Linked DNA regions of Homo sapiens: regions 1, 2 and 4 are each linked to region 3. Evidence: promoter capture Hi-C in 16 types of primary human blood cells and fetal thymus (Javierre and others, 2016). All regions are on one chromosome and are shown on one strand. The core of a region is centred on a gene start or on the middle of the fragment in contact, and the rest is flanking DNA. Distances in the headings are between cores, read along the strand shown. Region 1 has its middle 3.9 kb from the start of KRT3. Region 2 has its middle 5.3 kb from the start of KRT4. Region 3 holds the start of KRT74 (keratin 74). Region 4 has its middle 3.8 kb from the start of KRT76.

Evidence for each region. The method cuts DNA at HindIII sites, captures the fragments that hold promoters and counts their contacts. A CHiCAGO score of 5 or more calls a contact.
Region 1: a contact is called between a fragment that was not itself captured here and the fragment with the promoter of KRT74 in region 3, in 3 of 17 cell types (naive CD4 T cells, naive CD8 T cells and total CD8 T cells). The highest score is 6.7, in naive CD4 T cells.
Region 2: a fragment that was not itself captured here is called in contact with the fragment with the promoter of KRT74 in region 3 in 2 of 17 cell types (erythroblasts and activated CD4 T cells); the score reaches 7.2 in erythroblasts.
Region 4: a fragment that was not itself captured here is called in contact with the fragment with the promoter of KRT74 in region 3 in 1 of 17 cell types (non-activated CD4 T cells); the score reaches 5.0 in non-activated CD4 T cells.

The regions. Positions count from the first base shown.
Region 1 is chr12:52,798,186-52,801,814 of GRCh38, reverse strand. No RefSeq gene overlaps it. Among named protein-coding and RNA genes, the nearest start is that of KRT3, 3.9 kb to the right of the region's middle. The HindIII fragment of the contact is 5,805 bases long and covers 1-3,629 here.
Region 2 is chr12:52,817,652-52,821,262 of GRCh38, reverse strand. No RefSeq gene overlaps it. Among named protein-coding and RNA genes, the nearest start is that of KRT4, 5.3 kb to the right of the region's middle. RefSeq lists an enhancer at 2,543-3,044. The HindIII fragment of the contact is 1,770 bases long and covers 1,000-2,769 here.
Region 3 is chr12:52,571,680-52,575,340 of GRCh38, reverse strand. KRT74 (keratin 74) reads left to right here and starts at 1,498. Exons shown (of 9, transcript NM_175053.4): 1 at 1,498-2,034; 2 at 2,674-2,888; 3 at 3,337-3,397. The coding sequence starts at 1,564. RefSeq lists an enhancer at 2,904-3,073. The HindIII fragment of the contact is 6,698 bases long and covers 1-3,661 here.
Region 4 is chr12:52,779,265-52,783,013 of GRCh38, reverse strand. No RefSeq gene overlaps it. Among named protein-coding and RNA genes, the nearest start is that of KRT76, 3.8 kb to the right of the region's middle. The HindIII fragment of the contact is 1,580 bases long and covers 537-2,116 here.

The sequences.
Region 1 (3,629 bases), core at 940-3,439, 230 kb before region 3:
TGTTTCCAGGAATGAAGAGGTTTGCTGTCATTCCTTTGTCTCTTGGCAGAATTGTCTCTCACCCCACACGCTGGCATCCATTCCTTTGATATTTATTGAGCATCTTTCATATGCTAGGGGCTATAAATTGCTATTTTAAAAATCCCCTTGGGTTACTTACAGTGTCCCCTGGTCCCCTTATTTTCACCATGATTGTACCCTTTGCTTTATGTCTAACTGGATCCCCTCAAATTCCTCAGTGGAGAGAGATCCATGCTTTTCAAATCATTGCATTGAGAAATAAATGTATTTTTCCTCTTAAATGCCTTTCCCAGGTTAAATGACCACTTAATGACTTTTTTCACCTCCCCTTCTATCTTTTTTTTTTTTTTTTTGGAGACAGACTCTCGCACTGTCACCCAGACTGGAGTGCAGTGGCGCAATCTCGGCTCACTGCCATCTCTGCCTCCTGGATTCAGCCATTCTCCTGCCTCAGCCTCTGGAGTAGCTGGGACTACAGGTGCCCGCCACCACTCCTGGCTAATTTTTTGTATTTTTAGTGGAGATGGGGTTTCATCGTGTTAGCCAGAATGGTCTCAGTCTCCTGACCTCGTGATCCGCCCGCCTCGGCCTCCCAAAGTCCTGGGATTACAGGCCTGAGCCACCACGCCCGGCCTATCTTTTGTTTGAAGACAACTGTTTAATAACTTCCTAAGATCTCTTGGGAATTCTCCAGCGAGGACAAGGTTGTGATTTCTGCTGTGTACAAGCCTCTGGTTTGAGCAGGCATGCCAGCCAGACATGATTCAGCACAAATATAAATGGACAGCTCTTATCCATGCAGAGGAATCTTATGTAAATAGAGGCTTATTCAGGGCAAACCTTTTTTTTTTTTCATTTTTACTGTTATGTTTATTTTCTCTGTAAGTGCTTTGTGAATGCTGTCCCTTCAGTTTATTCTTACAGCAGGACAAGGAAGTGAGTTATTTAAAACTAGGAAGCTGGCTGGCATGGTGGCCCATGTTTATAATCCCAGCACTTTGGGAGGCTGAAGTGGGCGGATTGCTTGAGCCTAGGAGTTCAAGACCAACCTGGGTTACATAGAGAGACTCTGTCTCTACAAAAAAAATAAAAAAAGTGTTAGCTGGGCATGGTGGTGCATGCCAGTGTCCCAGCTACTTGGGAGGCTGAGGTGGGAGGATGGCTTGAGCCTGGGAGGTTGAGGTTGCAGTGAGCTGAGATTGCACCACTGCACTCCAGCCTCAGCAACAGAGTGAGGGGCTCTCTCTCTCTCTCTCAAAACAAAAACAAAAAAACAAAAACAACCCCCTGCCCCCACCACCAACAAACCCATGCCTTACCATTCCTCCTCCCCAGGCAGGATTGATGGAAGTCAAGAGCTAAAGAAGGGAACAGAATCTTAGCTTGCATTGAAAGAAGCACAGTGCCCCCATCACAGACAGGAAGGGGCTTCTTATTAGTTCTGGTGCACATGAAGCCACCTTAAGTATCCTATCTTAGCAAGGCACTGTAGTTTTAAGAGGTCCATTAACATATTAAAGTGGGTGCAGAGAAGATTCCCGGAAACCATCTGTACTGAGGACTGGGAGAAACAACTGGGTCTATCTAACTGGGAGGTTGGTGTCTGTGAATTCCACAGTATTTTCTAATATTGGAAGGGTTGTGATACAGAAACCAGGGGAGTGTGTGTGTTTTACTATGGAAGGCCAGGCAAGAGCAAATTCATCGCAACTCAGTTCCCATCTGCTGAAGGCCTGCCAGGGCCACAGGCTGATGGACACAAAGGCAGGGAAGACAGGTGGTAACAGTGCTCAGTGGGGAATCTCAGCTGGGGGCAGGTGTCCAGCCGTGGAAGGGGCAGGACCTTGAGACCTGAGGCTGAGAGGCCCCAGTTAGGGTTGCTGTTGTGTCAGGACTGCAAGGATTCTGAGAATGCACATGGATGCAAGTGTCTCTCGACTGAGTGAATAATGTGTCTTTTTATGTATATGTATTACCACTTTCAAATGTATATGACTATGAACTGCACTTTTATTTAAAAGTGTTGCTAAATTCATAGTAAAAAATGTATATTCTCAAAGGATACTGGAAGTATGAGTTCTGACATGTGTGAAGGTCAATGTAATTTTTTGTGTGTTAAAAGGGGCCTTCACAAGCAGAGAGGTATGGGTGCCATGCCATGACGGACAGGTGACTGGGCCTCCTGCTGCTGACCACAACTTCACTGATCCTTTAAGAGGAGTTAGGCTCCCATGAAATGGAGTGGAAGGCACGAAAGCTAGATCCTTGAAGACCTTCCTTGGGTCAGGGTGGGGTCTTGCTGGCCTGGGCAAGTTAGGAGATTTGATGAATCGCCTTCCATGGGGATCCTGAAGAGTAGGAGTGGCCAGGTGAATTCTGCCTCGAGGTAGAGGAGTGGACTGGAGAGCCTCCTGGCCGTAGCACCCTATGAGTCTCGATTTTACACATTGCAATCCAGTGACTCACTCTTTTCTCCAGGGAGTAAACACTTAGGGCGCTTAGTTAATAAACTTCAGATAATTCAAGTGTTGGGGATGACTGTAAACCAACTCTGTTTTCTCAAAGTGTTTATTAGGCCCTACAAGTTTAGAGGGATGGGCCCAACCAATAAGAATTTCAACTCACTGATTATCTCCTCCCCTTCCACCACTTCCTTCACTCACAGCTCTGATCAGAATTGACAATCTAGTCCCACGAATGTATTCCCCAATCTTTGTTTTGCTCCCTGTCCTCTCAAAGGTCAAGCCATGTCTTCTCTGCTATCCCAACCCCAAGAGTAAGTATAGATTATGCCCTTCTTCCTTTTTCTTCCACCATCTGCTGGGGAGGTCCCCGACCCAGGACTAGCTGATGACAGCAGTGGTTGTGATGTTGCTTCTCAAAGATTCTTCTCCAAGATAATTCCCTCTAAAGGAATGACAAGCATGGCTCAGAATCAGTGGGCTCTGGCAATGACTAAGATCTCCCCCCATTGGGGCACTAAGTACCCTGAATCACTATGGGTTTAGGAATTCCTAGAGACTCATTGCCCTGGACTCTAGACCCCACACCAGACCAAGCAGCAGCCTCATTTCTGTCTGGCATAAAGGCAGGTCCTCCATCCTGCTCTCTTAGATATTATAAGGAAAAATATGGTCTAATTTTTGTGATATGTTTCCTTTTTTCTTTTTCTTTTGTTGAGAAGGGTCTTGTTCTGTTGTCCAGGCTGGAGTGCCATGGTGCAATCATAGCTCAGTGCAGCCTTGACCTCCCAGGATCAAGTGATCCTCCGACCTTAGCCTCCCAAGCACCTGGGTCTACAGGCACATGACACCACACCCGGCTAATCTTTGTATTTTTTTCATAGAGATGGTGTTTTGCCATGTTTCCAAGGCTGGTCTGAAACTCCTGGGCTCAAGCAATCTGCCCACCTCAGCCTTGCAAAGTATTGGGGTTACAGGCGTGAGCCACCACATTTGGCCTTGTGATATGTTTCTTAAAACACTGGCAGATATTTCATTCATCTAGCTATGTTCCTGTGAGATCTAGAGGGTCAGAGATGATTGATCATCTTTTATGGTTAATGATGCTGAAATGCAGAGAATTTAAATAGCTTTGGTCATGCTTAG
Region 2 (3,611 bases), core at 635-3,134, 250 kb before region 3:
CCAAGGCTCAGAGGGAATATGTAAGCTGCTCAAGGCCAGACCTGGCTAAGTGGCTGCCTATTAACCAGCCACCCCTGGTGCCTGTTCAGCCTCCCACTAACTCTGTAGGGGCAGACAGCATGCTTTGTTCAGTGGAGAGGTCTTAGGCTTCAGAACTAGGCAACTTGGGTTTAAATCCAAGTTCTGCCACTTACTAGCTGTATGACCTCGGTCAAGTTACCTAACCTCTCTGAGCCTTAGTTTCCTCCTTTGTAAAAGTGGGTTGTGATAAGAACATGTGTAAAGCATCTGGCTTATAGAGGCCCTTTCAGGAATCAGGTTTCTTTGCTTTCCCACTCCCTGACTTCTGGATTCCCAGCTTATCCTCTTGGCCTCAGTGATGTCTCTCTCAGCCCCCACATCCAGTCGGCAAGAAAAATCCACACTTAATTGGGTTTTGTGGTTTACACATACATTACTTTGCCTGTGACCATCACCACAGCCCTAGGTTCAGTAGTGGGCATGTGGTGTTCCAGTTTACAGGTGAGGCGATTCACGCTCACAGAAGTGACCTCTCATGCTGTAGTCATCCAGCTGGCTGGAGGTGGGTCAGTAGTGTCCAGGGCTGCAATTTCAAGCCCTCTGTCCTGTCACCCCAGAAGCTACCTCCGTCCTACTCCTGCCTCCATCACTCGCCAAATCTTACTGCTCCTCCCTCCATGCGTCTCTTGGTATCACCTTCTTTCCTCTTCATCTCCACAGTTCTCTACTTTGAGTCTGGACCCCACTCCTCAAGCTGTACCCAAGTGATTCCCCAATTGGCTGGCCTCTCAACCCTGCACCTCTCAGGCCCTCCCCACCCTGCTACCAAACCAGTTGGCCCGACCCGAGGCTGTCACCACTCCGCTCCCTTCCTTGGCAACCTTAGGGCTCCTGGCAGTTGCTGGGATGCATCCCACACTCTTCCGGCCTGATCACTCTGTCCTCCTCAGAGGAGCCCCGAAGAGCCCTGAGAAAGCTTCCTCCAGGGCTGTGGAAGGCCAGCAGAGGGATTTTCAGCCAAACCCTAACCTCCAGCTTAGGAACACAAAGGCCTAGCGGTTTAGGGTCAGCTCTGCCTCACCAGCTTGGGTGGTCTCTAGCTTCCCTTCTCAGACAGATGGAGTATAGTCCACCCCATGTACAACACTTTGAGGAATACTTGCTAATGCTCACTGAGTGCCAACTGTGTGCCAGAACTGCTGTCAAGCCTTTAACTGATTCTCTTCACAACAGCCTATAATATAAATACTATTATCATTCTAATTTTGCCTATAAGGAAAATAAGGCACAGAGTGGTTAAGTAACTTGCCTAAGGTCACACAGCTAGGAAGTAGCAGAGCTAGGTGTGGAATCCAAGCAATCTGGTTCCATAGCCCAAGCTCTTAAGCACCAGGTTATTTTGCTTATATAGAAAAAGGAATGGAGACCTGGGGATGCTGGAGCTAGAAGGGGCATTGGATGTAATCGACTCCAAACTTTTTATTTCATAGATAAGAAAACAGGTTGAGGAAGGGGAAGAATGTATCCAAAGCCACGGTAACTTAGTGGCAGTGTTAAAAAAAAAATCAGTTTTAGTGAGATCATAGGCCAGGTGTTGTGGCTCCTGCCTGTAATTCCAGCACTTTGGGAGGCTGAGGCAGGTGGATCACTTGAGCCCAGGAGTTCAAGACAAGCCTGGCAACATGGTGAGACTCTGCCTCTACAAAAAAATACAAAAATTAGCTGGGTTTGATAATGCATACCTGTAGTCCCAGCTACTTGGGAGGCTGAGGTGGGAGGATCACTTGAGGCTGTTGAGGCTGCGGTGAGCTGTGATTGCACCATTGCACTCCAGCCTGGGTGACAGAGGGAGACCCTGTCTCAAAAAAATTATATTTAGGGCTCAAAAACTGAACAATAGAAACTTTTGATTGTCATGGAAAAAAGCCTCAGAGATTATACTGCAGCCCAGGGGGGCCCACCAACAATAATGCGCTGCTTAGACATACTTGTCGAAGGAGGGGAATGGCCCAGACCCAGGGGTTTCCAAACTGAGGACCCTAAGGGCTGCTTTCAGGGGTGCAGGGGGAGGTCAGCAGGTGAGAAGGATCATGGTCCCTCCTCTGCACCAACTGGATCATCTCTCCTTATCTGTTTTACTCATGAGGCTGTGCACGTGATTTTGTTTATGAGGGTGCTTTTGCTGCCAGAACATGCTGGGAAGCCCCTGCCTGTATATGCCTGGGGTAGGAGGCCAGCAGGGGCAGCTCTCCGGCCCGGGGAAAGAGGAGCCCCTGGGTACAGACCCCCATACCTGGCTCTCAGGAGTGCCCGTCCTCTCATTGCCCTCACTGGCCTCTCCCTAAAACGCTGATGGCCCTTTTCTGCAGAATCTCTGATCCCCGTGTTGTCTCTGGTTCCCCAAGAATGACTCAGGCCCGGTGGGGCAGTTGAGGTTGGGTGACCGAATGGAGTGAGGGTGCCCGCCTGGCCAGGGAGGGCAGGAGCACTTTCCCACACCACACAGTGGGTTTGGAGATGAGAGTGACAGAAGCCCTCAGGATCCCTTAATCCCAGGGCTGAATGTAAGGGCTTGCCTCCCTTACCCAGAAAGCCCTGAGCAAACACTCCCTCCGCCTGGCTCCACACCCCTGTCGGCTGCTCATCCCTCTGTGAAAAGATTGGGAACAGCTGCCAAACAAGGAAGGGTCACCGAGGGCAGTAGCAGAATCTGCGTGTGGAGGTCTGGGGAGGGGCAGGGGACAAGCTTCCAGCTGTGGCTGCTGGGTAGTGGCGCCTTGTTCAGCCACCTGCCTCTGGCCCACATATGAAGGCAATGTCTTTCCCCGTTTTCAGGGAAAGAAACTCATCTCTCTTTCTCTCTCACTCTAGGGTGTAAAGGCGCTCTTGCATAGGAAGTTCTTCCTTAGGTCTACCTTCGGTTTCTCAGGCTCAGTTTGAAGATTTTGTGAGCTTCTTGCAATTCTGATTTAATAATAAGGACACAGAATGTGGCTCTAGACTAGAACTTTCTTCTTGTTTGGATTGGGTTTATGGTAGGGTTTGTCATGAAATTAATTTGGATTTAGTTAATTGGAGGATACAAAACTGGCCCCTCAGGACAGTGTCATACCTTATTGGGTACTTGTAAGGACAGGGCCACATCAACCAAGCAACTGACCATGTGCTGAGGGTAAGGACAAAAAGGAGCGGAGCTGCATCTGCAGAGCTTGCAGCCTGCTGGCCAGACCCCATGGCTGTCTTGGTGGACCATGAGGTACAGGGCTGTATAAGTTGCTGTGTATTTTTTTCCCTGCATATTCTGTGTGGGCCAGTCACTCATATAAAACATTATACCTACCGTTTTATACATTGTAAGGTCACAAGCTTTGAAGTCAGACAGATAGTACTGACTTCCTATCTCTACCACTTCCTGGCTGTGTGATCTCAGGCAAGTTACATACCCCTCTGAGCCTCAATATCTGCAGCTCCAAACTGGACATAGCAAAGCACCTCTTTGACTGGGTTGTTGGAAGAAGCACCTAGTGTTCAGCATATAACAGTAGTTCCAAGAGAGAATCCCTTCTACCCAAGAGGCACCGCTGCCTTTC
Region 3 (3,661 bases), core at 249-2,748:
GAAGGGGAAATTCTTCCGGGGCAGCTTCCAGGCCTAAGCTCCACGCTCCCTGCCCAGGTCAGCTTCTCCTTTTCCCTCCCCAGCAGTGGGAGCAGTTGTCTTCTGCCCTCGGCTGGATCCAAACAAGCCAAGTGTTCTCAGTTTAGTTATAGGAAGTGGTCAGAGTCTTGCATGAGGGCAGCTGCCAGATACCTAGCTTTGAAATAATTTTTTTTGTTTTTTGGAGACAGAGTCTTGCTCTGTTGCCCAGGCTGGAGTGCAGTGGCACAATCTAGGCTCACTGCAACCTCTGCCTCCCAGGTTCAAGTGATTCTTCTACTTCAGTCTTTTGAGTAGCTGCGACTACAGGCATGCACCACTGCGCTCGGCTGATTTTTGTATTTTTAGTAGAGGCGGGGTTTCACCATGTTAGCCAGGCTGGACTCAAACTCCTGACCTCAGGCAATCTGCCCTCCTTGGCCTCCCAAAGTGCTGGGATTACAGGTGTGAGCCACCATGCCCAGCCCTGAAATAATTTTTTAACATTGCACTGTACCCACACTACCTGAGCTATAAAGCAGTGATACTTCCTGTTTGAAAATTGAGTGCTCCCTGAAGTTGCCAGGAAACTGGCAGAACAGCCCACCCTGAACCTGGGAGTGAAACTCAGGGGGTCCTGTTCCTTGGTGACTTCAGCCATAGGGTGTTTCCCCAGGGAGTGCAGGGGCTAATATCCCAGCTCCTGCCTGACTTCCTAGAGTAGGACAAATAATCTTATCCAGGAGAGAAAATCCAACTGGAGGAAATGCAGCTGACTGGAAAGGTTCTCATGGTTGTAAGGCAATGTCAAGGTCACCACCACCCAGGCCCTGCCCAACACAGAAGGCCCTAGACAATATCCCTGCTAGGGGGGCATGCAGATGCTGCAGAGTCATTCCTCTTCCTTCCTGGGGTCCACTTCACTGCTAGACAGCTGTGGTCCTTAGCATGGCCCAAGGACGGACCCTGGAGCTTCTTACCCAGATCCAGATCTTTGAGGACATCTTTCCAAGAAGAATCATCTTTCCATGTCTTCTTTTCCCTGAGGTAAAAATTCCAGCTTCCACACAAGACCCTATAATAGAGAGATGGTTTCTTTTGGGAAGAAACCTGGGGTTTTTCAGGTGAGTCTACTCTGGGGAAAGCCAGGCATTTCCCCTGCTCCTTGCTGATGGTTAAGCAAGAAGGAGGTAGCACTGGAAAAATAAAGCTAGGAGATCTCTTCAGGGGATAACTCTTCAGGTCCTTAATTAGGGAGCACAGATAAACTCCAAATTAGACCACTCCACTCTGCAAGGGCAGCATATTCCACTTGCTATCAGAAGAGCTTTGTTGCTGCAAAGGGCTTGGAGATCTCTGTTCTACAAATTGCCCATGGCCCCTGGCCCATCAGCAGGGGAAAGGAGATAGTGGAGAGACGCCCTTTTCCGGTGTCCTGGGCTCAACAGGGATAAAAGGAGGCAGCACTCTGGGTGCCCCATCAGTGTGTTCTCTACCCCTTGGAGACTGCTTTTCTCCAGCTCTGTCAACTCAACCTTTCCCACCATGAGTCGGCAACTGAACATCAAGTCCAGTGGTGACAAGGGCAACTTCAGTGTGCATTCGGCAGTGGTGCCAAGGAAGGCTGTGGGTAGCCTGGCTTCTTACTGTGCAGCTGGCAGAGGGGCTGGCGCTGGCTTTGGCAGTCGGAGCCTCTATAGCCTTGGAGGGAATCGGCGTATTTCTTTCAATGTGGCTGGTGGCGGCGTTCGGGCTGGAGGTTACGGCTTCAGGCCTGGCTCTGGGTATGGAGGGGGCCGGGCCAGTGGCTTTGCTGGCAGTATGTTTGGCAGTGTGGCCCTGGGGCCTGCATGTTTGTCTGTGTGCCCACCTGGGGGCATCCACCAGGTCACTGTCAACAAGAGCCTCTTGGCCCCCCTCAACGTGGAGCTGGACCCTGAGATCCAGAAGGTGCGCGCCCAGGAGCGGGAACAGATCAAGGTGCTGAACGACAAGTTCGCCTCCTTCATTGACAAGGTGGGTCTCATAGGAGGAGGATGAGGCCGCACCCTGAGGCCTGAGCAGTTTTCCTGCTGCCTGGGAATGGACTGCACACTGTGGCTGGAAAGGTGCAGCTGGGCCTCAGGAAGGGCTTCCTCACCATTAGGGAAGGAGAGTAGGTCTGTGAGCCACGGAGGACAAAGGAATACATGAATATATCGGCTTCTTTGGCGATTTTGCAGGGAAGGATGGGAAGCTGGGTAAAGAGCAGCCCTTCCTTGACAAAAAAGTGATGAGTTTCTTGAGGACAGCTGGATCTTCCAAGAACATGAAAGGCTAATAGAATCCAGCAGTGTTCAGAGGGAAGGGCTCATGGTACAGGAAGAGACACTTAGTTGAGACATAAGGAAGGACATCTCCTGGGACCAGGGCCGAGCAATAGAAGAAAGCTGTGGAAACTCCTTGAGTGAGTTCTCAGTGATGCCTTGTCCAGAAGGCTAGGAAATGAGCACTTGTAAAGGATCTAGTTTGTGTGGAATGGCAAGGGTGGAGAGTCAAGACATGAGCAAAAATGACTACAACAATCTATGGCAAACCTGGGGAGTCAATGGTGTGTGTCCAGGGGGCATGACTGCACCCATTGTGGTTCCAGGTGTCTGTTGATTTGGGTTCCAGGTACGCTTCCTAGAGCAGCAGAACCAGGTTCTAGAAACCAAGTGGGAGCTGCTGCAGCAGCTGGACCTGAACAACTGCAAGAAGAACCTGGAGCCCATCCTTGAGGGCTACATCAGCAACCTGCGGAAGCAGCTGGAGACACTGTCTGGGGACAGGGTGAGGCTGGACTCGGAGCTGAGAAGCATGAGGGATCTGGTGGAGGACTATAAGAAGAGGTGAGCAGGCTCCACCCGAGGGTCACAGACCATGTTTCCCGTGCCTCTGGGCTCACCTGATCTCTGTGCCATTATTTTTTAGGAGATGGGGGAGTATGCACCAGGGTCAGGAGCTCACATCCCTTTCTCTGGCTAGGGGGAAGGGCCTATCCTCTTTGATGATAACTTCCTGCCTAGTTGATAGGAAGCGGTTCCTGTGCTCCTTGACCCACTGAAATGTTCAGTTGCTGGTGTCGGGAGCCCAATAGGCACCTGGGTGTTTTCCTAACATGCAAAAACTAGGAGACAAGTGAAGCAACTCAGGGATATCTTACTCCTGTCACTAGCCTCTTACTGCTCACCCCAGAGACCCTGCAGGGACCCTGTATCCCAAACATTTGCCTGGCCAGCAGGAAGAGAAAGTTCCTTGGCTAAGGGGGCTAAGGCCATCTACTCTCCCTGCTGGCAGATATGAAGTGGAGATTAACCGGCGCACGACAGCAGAGAATGAGTTTGTGGTGCTTAAGAAGGTAAGAGAGGGAGGAGCCTCCTTATTAGGGTCTCTCGCACCCCCATCTTAACAACTCTGCTCAGGACTTCAGCCCAGGAGGCTGGGGAGGGGGCTGGTGCCTGGTGAGGGGGCTGGTGCCTGGTGAGGGTGGAGTCATAGTCCTGGCCTCCAGTGAGTTGGAGAGGAAAGACACACACTCAGGAAATGGACAGAGACAGACAGAATTCTGGTCTGGGAACTGTGAAACTCGGGTCCAGCTCAACCTTGCTGTGTGACCTGAGGA
Region 4 (3,749 bases), core at 77-2,576, 210 kb before region 3:
GCAGAGGTTGCAGTGAGCCTTGATTGTGCCACTGCACTCCAGCCTGAGCAACAGAGTGAGACTCCGTCTCAAAAAAAAAAAAAAAAAAAAAAAGTGAAAGAGAAGATTGTGGCTAATCATTCCTGTGGGCCAAGTGGTCAACTCCAACATCTAAGACCCAGCAAGCAGCTAAGCTCAGCGCAAACTCCTGGCCTCTTGCTCTTTCTCCAACAGGGTGAAGACCTTTTACATTGCAGATGATGGAGCGGCTCTTGTCATCTATAAATTCCATGCACACCCATGTGTTCTGTCCCTGAGAGACTGTCCTGACCAGTGCCTTGGTGGCCCTGGCTAGCATGGTAGGTTGCACATGGCTGGTGTCCAACCTATCATGTGGTGGTCAGGTGGAGAGAATATTGGTGGGTTCTTTACATGTCAAAGTGGACTTTTCACTTTGGGATGGTGTAATTTGACTTGCTGAAAGTCTATGCAGAAGAAAAGCATTCACGAATTTACGACAGGCTTTGGGATTGGACAGTCTGATTAAAATCCAAGCTTGCAAGTGAATTGACTTGAGGCAAGTTAATTAACCTCATGCCCTTATCTGTAAAATGTGAATGAAAATTCCTACCTTACAAAGTTTTTGTGACAATTAGAAATGACACATGTAAACAACCTGTCAGTGACTTGTATATGTTAGGCAGTCAATGTTAGCTGTTTTAAAATTCTATTCACAGATGGGCAATAGGAGTTAAGATTTGAAAGAGGAAATTGTTTTCACTGAAACATAGTCCCCACACCTCTAAAAAGTATGTAGTAGATCAATAAGTATTTGCTGATTGATAGATTGCATTACTGACGAGGCCCTGTAGTGGGAAAATGGCTTGGCCAGACATGGGAAAATGGCTTTTATGTAATTCTCAATACAGACAGTATGATTCTTTGCAACTTGTTGCAAAATAATCAAAGACTTCACTGTTGCCTTGACCCTAAACTGGGCTACCCCTTAGAACTCCTCCTTCCTCTTCAGCTTCCAAACTGACACCTTCTAGGAGGGCTTCCTACATTGACATCATCATCACAAGGGCTGCCAAGTGTTGAGCACCTGCTTTGTGTAAGGGTTTTCCAACTTTACCTCCTACAGTCCCCACTGCAACTCTATGAGGAGGCTGTGCTAACTCCCATTTGCTGAATGGGAAACTGAGGTCCAGAGGGTAAAATGTCTTGCCTGATGCCATGCAACTGGAAAGTGGCAAGGCTGGGATCTGAACACAGGCTCGTCTAATTCCAAGGCTTCCATATTTTCCACTCTTTCAAGCTGCAAGGGAAGAGAGGAGGAGATGAAGTTATTTGAGTTCCAGAAAATCCAGCATGCCCATGAAATATCCACGGTTTTTGGAAATATTCAGCCAAATCCATTTATTGGTGAGAAATATTCATTGACAGGAGAGCTTGTCTTTAGAGAACCTGTTCAGTTTTCGGCGTCCCAGTGCCCTTCTTGCTGCATCTTCAACCCCAGGCCTTAGTCTGCTCTCAGTTTCCTGCTATCTCACTTGGAGCAAGTGCTTTCTCTCCAGGGATGAGGAGCTCACTTGGAGCAAGTGCTCTTTCTCCAGGAATGAGGATGTCTCCTTATGCCCTAATCCTCTGATTGGTCTATCTGCACTGGTCTATCTGCACATTCTCATCCATCCTGGATGGCTAGTTGGACTAGCGTTTCCCGAGTATACTTGACAGCATGTTAGTAGATGTTAAGATAGAAAGATTTTGTTGTTAAATTTGGGAAGCTGTGATTAAATTAAGGCAAAGACATTATTTTCTATAGGACTTCTTTGGGCTTTTAATATACTAAACAACTTTACTAAAATCCCAGGAAAGAGCTATAGATTTTTCATTTCCCAAATTTATGTAATCACAGAACCTTTTAATCAGGGCCATCTTGGGAGATAGAATTCTGCCCTGCATAAGCCCTGGGAGAGATCCAAGTACCAGATAAAGAATGAGGGGTGAGCTGGTGTGTATTTTAATCAAGTGTAGAGATAAGACCAGAATCAGAACAAATTGTGGTTGCTAACAGCTAAGACCTTAGTAACATAAGGACTTAGTTGTACTTAGATGTTTGCTTCTTTATCAAGCTTTCACTATAAATCTTGCTCTATATGGTAATTATTTTTACTGTTCATTGGTTAAAATTGCTTCACTAGTGACAAGCTTTTATTTCAACAAGAAAAGAATGCTAATTCCTAGTCCAGGGGCAGCATACCCAGAACGTTAATTATTCTTTTTTTATTTTTGAGAACAAATTGGTGATTATCTTGAAAATGGGATCTGCGAACCTCCATGGAGAAAGAGGCAGCAGCCATGGCTCCCTCATCCTCAGCAGATGGTGGTGGAGAGGGATGACTGCTCACTTTGGCCAAGGATAATGACTACTGTCTCATGATGCATTCCTCCACTCATAATTATGTTACAGGCAATCTGAAGTCTTCTCACTGCAGTTGACTACCAGAGAGCAATTTGGTTAGAGGGAATAACTCCTTGGTTTTAGTGCCCCCAATTTTATAGGTGGGGAAATAAAAATCCAGGGTGCTCAGCCATCTGGCAAGCTTTACACAGAATGTTCTGGCAGTGAGGGATTGGAACTCAGATTGCTGGCAGTAGGCAGACCCTTTAGATACTGTTCTGAAAGATCCTACAGTGAATGAGGGCAATGTTGGTGAGGATAGCAACTCTGGGTATTTCCAGCAGCTCCATTCAACTGCTGAGAAGACAATCCCCATCTGCTAAATAAGGTGATGCTTTGGCAGGCTCATGCGACATGGATTAGGCGACCCAGCCCAAACCCGCGCTTTTGTGATCTGTGCATCACCTTTCTCCACCACGCTTCTCCAGCCTAGGCCAGGGTGGCAGAGGTGAGCCACACATCAGAGGCTGCCACCCACCACCTCAGTACTGCAGCCAAGGGAGGGAAGGGAATCAGAGACATTTATGTCTGTTCTTGTTTGCTTCGGACTCTCACCTGGAGCTTCAGCTGAGCCTGGCTCAGCTTTCTTTCCAGGAAGAGCATGTGATCTTCTGCTTTTAAAGGATCCAGAGGATATGAGGAAAGACCTTACCAGGAGGGGCTGTCATTCAATTGATGGGTGGAGTATAAATGTCTCATGGAAGAACTCAACATGAAATCCTCTTCCTGGATTATCTGTGGATGAATGATGTTAATTTAAAAATCCAAACATATATTGCTGAATACTATGTATTTAAATTTCAAAACAATCCTGCAAGTAGGATCAATGCCACCTTTTAAAAATAAGGAGAGAGAGAAGTCAAGTACCTTGTCCAAGGTCACCACATAGTGAGAGGTAGACATAGGATTTGAACCCAGGTCTTTGGAATTCCATGATGATGACAGGTTTTCTGTTATACCACAGCTATCTTACTCCTGTGTGGAATTTTGTGATTTTCAAAGGACTTTCACTTACATTATCCTGCAAGTCTCACCACAAACCAGTAAGGTAGGAAAGTGTTTGGCAGATTAGAACACAGACTTACGTTAAATCGTGGCACAAGGTCACCCAACCCAACCCTAGTCAGTATAAGTCTCAGTCTTTTCTATCCCAAGTTGGGTTTCTAATTCTTCACTCCTATTCAGCCTCCTTTCCTCACCTTTGGTGAGCTTCTTAGGGATGCAAAGTTGTCTTGAGAACAGCCAGGGCCAAACATGTTATTGCTTCTCCATTCCCCCAAATAGAGTACTGGCAAGTAGCTAAACA